Regions from separate parts of the Homo sapiens genome. Here region 1 is linked to region 2. The links are contacts of gene promoters, found by promoter capture Hi-C in human tissues and cell types (Jung and others, 2019). All regions are on one chromosome and are shown on one strand. The core of a region is centred on a gene start or on the middle of the fragment in contact, and the rest is flanking DNA. Distances in the headings are between cores, read along the strand shown.

Region 1 (2,700 bases), core at 40-2,539, 220 kb after region 2:
TTTTGTAACAGTAATGTAAAATTTAAGATGTCCTTTTTTAAAGAATCTAAGAAGTGCTCTTGAAACGGAAAGTAATTTAAACATGGGATCTCCACCTGGGTTTCCTGAAAGACACCAGGGTTACAGAAAGGGCCTTCAGAAATCACCACCCCGCTAAAGTGTGAATTTAAAAGTTTGTGAGCATTTGCATGTATTTTTTTCCCTAAGGAGAACCTAGTTTTTTTAATAGCTCATAATATAAAAAAAAAAAATTTCCCAAAAAAAAAAAAAAAAGGACTTGTTAAGAACACGTGTCTTCTGACACGGATGAACACCTTATGATGAAGCCATGTGAAACAAGTTCCTTCATTTTAAGCAGCTGAACATCTATCCTTTAAATATTTTCTTTTGTAAAACTTTAAGGCTCTCTACACCAATGCTTCCCCAAATTTGTGTTCCTTAAAGGGCTGTTAAGTAGGCTATTAATTAGCGTTACTCAAAAATTATTCTATGTTCAAATTTTAGAAATAATATTTCTCAGATACCTTCAATATGCTAATATGTCCTGGAAATAACCCAGGAATTCTAAGAGAGAAGGGAGTGTGTAGTGTTATTCCCTCGCTGGCCTAGGTATACTTCTGGTGATGAAATATTATTAACTGCCATCTAGAAAAACATTTCAAAGAATGCCAGCTGGGAAATGCTACTACTCTAATTTTAAGACTTAATAAAAGATCCTCAGCAAGGCAACTTTCGGCCCCTCACAGAGACAGTACTTTGAAATTCATATTGAGATTTTACCCTCTCTTCCAACGATTTTGGGAAAATTATGAACTGAGACTCTTCAGAAAATATCTTTCTTCTGGAAAAAAATGTCGCTCCCTTACCCTCATCCTTACTTTGTATCCTGGCTTATAACAGGCCATGCATTTTTGTAGCAAACTTTTCAAAAACAATTATATAACCTGGTCCCTTCTTTCTGGGGCCTGGATCTGCTTACACAGCAGGAAGAATAACACCACCAACCTTTACATAGCCCAGCTAGCCAGGGAAGTGTGTCCAGGCTTCAAGTAACTTGAATTTTAATTTTTGGCCGGGAGCGGTGGCTCACGCCTGTAATCCCAGCACTTTGGGAGGTCAAGGCGAGCGGATCACTGGAGGTCAGGAGTTTGAGACTTGCCTGGCCAATATGGTGAAACCCCATCTCTACTAAAAAAAAAAAAAAAAATTAGCTGGACATGGTGGTGCATGACTGTAATTCCAGCTACTCAGGAGGCTGAGGCAGGAGAATTGCTTGAACCCAGGAGGTGGAGGTTGCAGTGAGCTGAGATCGCACCACTGCACTCCAGCCTGGGTGACAGAGCTAGACTTTGTCTCAAAAAAAAAAAAATTTTTTTTCTTGGCAGAGTAATGGAAAATTTAAATGGGGAAAGATATTTAATACTAAGCTTTAAAAAGAAACCTGCTGGCCAGGCGCCATGGCTCAAGCCTGTAATCCCAGCTCTTTCGGAGACTCAGTTGGATGAATCACTTGAGGTCAGGAGTTTGAGACCAGCCTGGCCAACGTGGTGAAACCCTGTATCTACAAAAAATATAAGAATGAGCTGGGTGTGGTGATGCATGCCTGTAATACCAGCTACTTGGGTGGTTGAGGCAGAAGAATTGCTTGAGTCCAGGAGTTAGAGGCTGTGGAGAGCTGATATTGCGCCACTGCATTCCAGCCTGGGGGACCGAGCAAGACCCTGTCTCACCATCACCCTCCAAAAAAGGAAACCTGCTATGATTGCTATGTATCTTGATGCAACAACTATGCTGTTAATAAAAGGAAGTACAGAAGGCACTTGATATTAAAAGAAAAATAAAAGATCCTCCATTTGCCTGAGCCCAGGAGTTCAAGACTAGCTTGGGTAACACAGGGAAACTGTGTCTCTACAAATAATGAAAAATTTAGTCAGGCATAGTGGCATGCATCTGTGCTCCCAGCTACTTGGGAGGCTGAGGTGAGAGGATTGCTTTAGTCTGGGAGGTCGAGGCTGCAGTGACTCATGATTGCTCTGCTACACTCCAGTCTGGGTGACAGAATGAGATCCTGTCTCAAAATTTAAAAAAAAATTTTTTTTTAAATAAAAAAGATCCTCCCTGCATCTCTCCTCATCCTTCTTTGACATTTATTGCATGTCCCAAACAGAACAGACATGACATGGAACGCTTGAGGATACAATGGAGAATGGAATAGACTTGGTCCCTAATAATGTTTAGAGACCTAAATAGGATAGTGATTCTAAAGACTCGAGTAAATGTCAATTTAATATTTTGACAAATCAAAAGAAATGTGAATAACTTACTATAACACTGGATACAGACTTGATCTAAGATATTTAAAAACTTGGGTGTTAATGGTGGCAGAGGTTCTAGCTGGATTCTTTTGAAGTCTTCAGGACAGTCCTTCTTTAGATGACCCTCTCGTTTGCATAAGCTGCACACTACCGTAGGAGACTGCAGGAATATGGCAAAGCAAAACAAGACTTAACACTTTATTTGCCAAATAAAGGAGTCTGGAATCATGTTTTAAAAGTACACAGTCACCTATTCACTTTCCAAAGGAAATGAAAATATAACATGCATCCACTCAAATGATCTGAGAGATGGGGACATCCTATAGTATCATTAGGAGAACATAGTGGCTATTTTCACTACTAATAGCATTCCCTTCCTCTGCTA
Region 2 (2,700 bases), core at 153-2,652:
CTAACAATTCAATTTTTGTTCACTGACACCTTAAGAATTGAGTGTCTGGCCTAAAAACAGTAAGTCTTAGCAAGTTACTAGTTTCTATTAAGAAAGAAAGTAATGAGCTTAGCTTCATCTTTTATAACACAACTGGAAGAAGCTAGGATGCCTTTGGAGACCCACAAAAACTGACAAGAGATTGTCCCATGCCCTCCAAAATTCAGAAATACTAAAACTGAGATTTGAGCCAACCTGATGGCCATGAGCTAAACAAAGCCACTCAAGCGCTGCTAAATACTTCATCAGGTTATTGTGTATCTCACTAATCCAGCCCTAGAAATGTTCCTCAATAATGTGCATAATGTAGGGCCTAGGGACCCCAAATCAGACAAAGAAAACCTCAAAATCGTGAAAGTCACACAAGTTTAGTTTTGCAAATCTGGCTATGGGACATCTGAAATTGTCCAGCATCATCATGGTATTTCAAATATAATAATTCTTAAATTTTGCTAAAAAATTTCATCAAAATTGTTATTCTTCACATTTTGTTTCTTAAAAGCAAATCATTAAAAATATTAAATGGGATATGATTTTTACAGCAGGGCAAAGTTGTGTGGATCCTCCACGTTGGCAAAGGTGGAAACACAGGTATGCGAGAAAACCCCGAGCATCCACGAGAACGGGATGCAGCCGCGCTCTGGACGCGCGGCGGGAGGACCCGGAGCCCAAGCTCCGGGGTCACCAGCCACGAGGCCCAGCGGCAACGTGGACCCCAGGGCGGCCGGAGCGCGCCTGGGGCTGGAGGGGAGGAAGAGGCGGCGGGAGCCGAGAGACTCGCGGCTCGGCCAGCCTCCCGCGCCTGGTGCAAATCACGCTGCAGAACTGGAACTAGTGCGACTTAGGGGGTGCACGCTTTTGACTTTGGATGCCGACGCGCGTGACAAAGCTCAGAACAAAAAGACAGGCCCCGCATCGCCTGAGACTGCAGGGCAGGGAATCCTCGCGAGGCCCCTCATCGCAGGGCAAGGGGGCCGCGCGCCCGGTCTTGGGGAGCGAGCCGAGGGGCCCAGGCAGCCGCGGGCTACTCGGTGCAGGAAGGTGCGGAGCCAGCCCCGAGCGCAGCCAGCGAAGGTTGCAGCCCCGGCGCAAGCCGCGGGGAGGCTCCGGGGACCGACGCGAGGTCTCGGCGCGCGGGGTACGGGCCCTGGGCAAAGGAGGGAGGAAGCGATGGACCGCGGTTCGGGCAGCCTGGGGCCGCGCGCCGCCCACTCACCTCTTTTCGAGGCTCCGGCCGCCACTCGGGGATCCGGGGCCCCGCTACGAGGCCGCCCGGGTCGCTCTCCCGCCGCCGCCGGCCTCGAGCTCCGGCCGGCTCCGCGCCGTGCGCCCAGCGCCTCCGCGTCCAGCGCCGCCGCGTCTCCGGCCTCCGCAGCGGCAAGGCCCCGCCCCCGAGCAGCGCCGGCGGCGCGAAGGGAGGAGGCGGCGCCGCGAGCGCGGAGAAGCGAGGCAGGGGCTGCCGGGGCCGCGCGGACTCCCGGCCCCACGGTGCGCGCGCCCCGGCCGGTGGCCGCCCCTCGGCGGGAGCAGGAACGCCAGCGTGCGCCCAGTTCTCGCCGCTGGGCGTTGCCCCTTCCCCCGGGCCACCCCATCGCCCCTTCCGACGCGGGAGCTGGCGCCTGAGCAGCGACGCGGAGCGGGGAAGCGGCTGTGGGGAAAGGGTACCTGGGGGGAGCCCCCATCCCACGTTCCGCCCCGAGGGAATGTTCCCGAACAGCCAACCGCACCCAGCGCCACACTCACGTTACCTTCTTTATAAAAGTCGTCGGGTCAAAACTGCCCAGAGAAGGAAGCGAACGAAAAACAGGTTTTTAGGGGGCTTATACTCACAAAATTGTCTTTTTTCTCCCACGAGGCATTCCCTGTTGACCATCATCTCGCCTCGGTTGTCACCGCTCAGGCCTTAGTGTTTGGTCTGTGACCCTTCCACTGCTAGCAACGGAAAAAGTGAAGATTCCCGGACGCCTTCGGGTGTGATCTTATAGCCCGGGCAGCTGCATTTGAAACAGCGCCTCAGATGACGCTCAGGCGCACTGATGTTTGAGAAGCCCTATGAGGCCGTACCTCCCGGAGAGAATGCCACAAAACTAGTGACCTACAGGGAAACCATGCTAGAAAATTCTAAAGCAATGGTTCTTAACTCTGGCAGCACCTGCCATCCATTAGAATTATTTGGGGAGCTTTTAGAGCATTTAGGAACCAGGGTCCCACTTCCAGAGTTCAAAGTGAACTTGATATTTTTTGTTTGTTTTGAGCTTCCCAGATAATCCTAATACAGTATACGGCCAAGATTGAGAACAGTTTTCCTAGAATCATGTCTTCATGTCTTCCTAGCTCTGGTGTCTGGGAAAGGAAACTCCTTCCTCTGCGCCTCTCTCAAATCACAATAAAAAAACAAGTAAATACATGAACACCTAAAGGAATGCTCACAGCTGAAATTGATTTTAACCAGAACAAAGAGTCACCTTAAAAAAGGTGATCAAGATACCCTATTGCTACCTGAGCATGGAGCTTCTTAACTGCAGGAAACGTATCTTTACCAGCTAAAACCTCTTAGCTGAATTAGAAGCTGACCATACATGACCCCTTTAGAGGAATGTTCTACTATATTCCAAAATGATATTTTTGTTATCTGCAACTGTTAAACTGTTGTAGGGTCAG

Evidence for each region. Contacts are between HindIII fragments. The study calls those that stand out against the background at their distance.
Region 1: a fragment that was not itself captured here is called in contact with the fragment with the promoter of GOLM1 in region 2 in 1 of the 25 tissues and cell types used here (H1 embryonic stem cells).

The regions. Positions count from the first base shown.
Region 1 is chr9:86,320,001-86,322,700 of GRCh38, forward strand. It overlaps TUT7 (terminal uridylyl transferase 7), which reads right to left. Exons shown (of 27, transcript NM_024617.4): 14 at 2,325-2,475. Among named protein-coding and RNA genes, the nearest start is that of TUT7, 33 kb to the right of the region's middle. The HindIII fragment of the contact is 3,462 bases long and covers 1-2,700 here.
Region 2 is chr9:86,098,156-86,100,855 of GRCh38, forward strand. It overlaps GOLM1 (golgi membrane protein 1), which reads right to left and starts at 1,403. Exons shown (of 10, transcript NM_016548.4): 1 at 1,256-1,403. RefSeq lists an enhancer at 844-1,344 and silencers at 975-1,024, 1,185-1,284, 1,295-1,614. The HindIII fragment of the contact is 18,007 bases long and covers 1-2,700 here.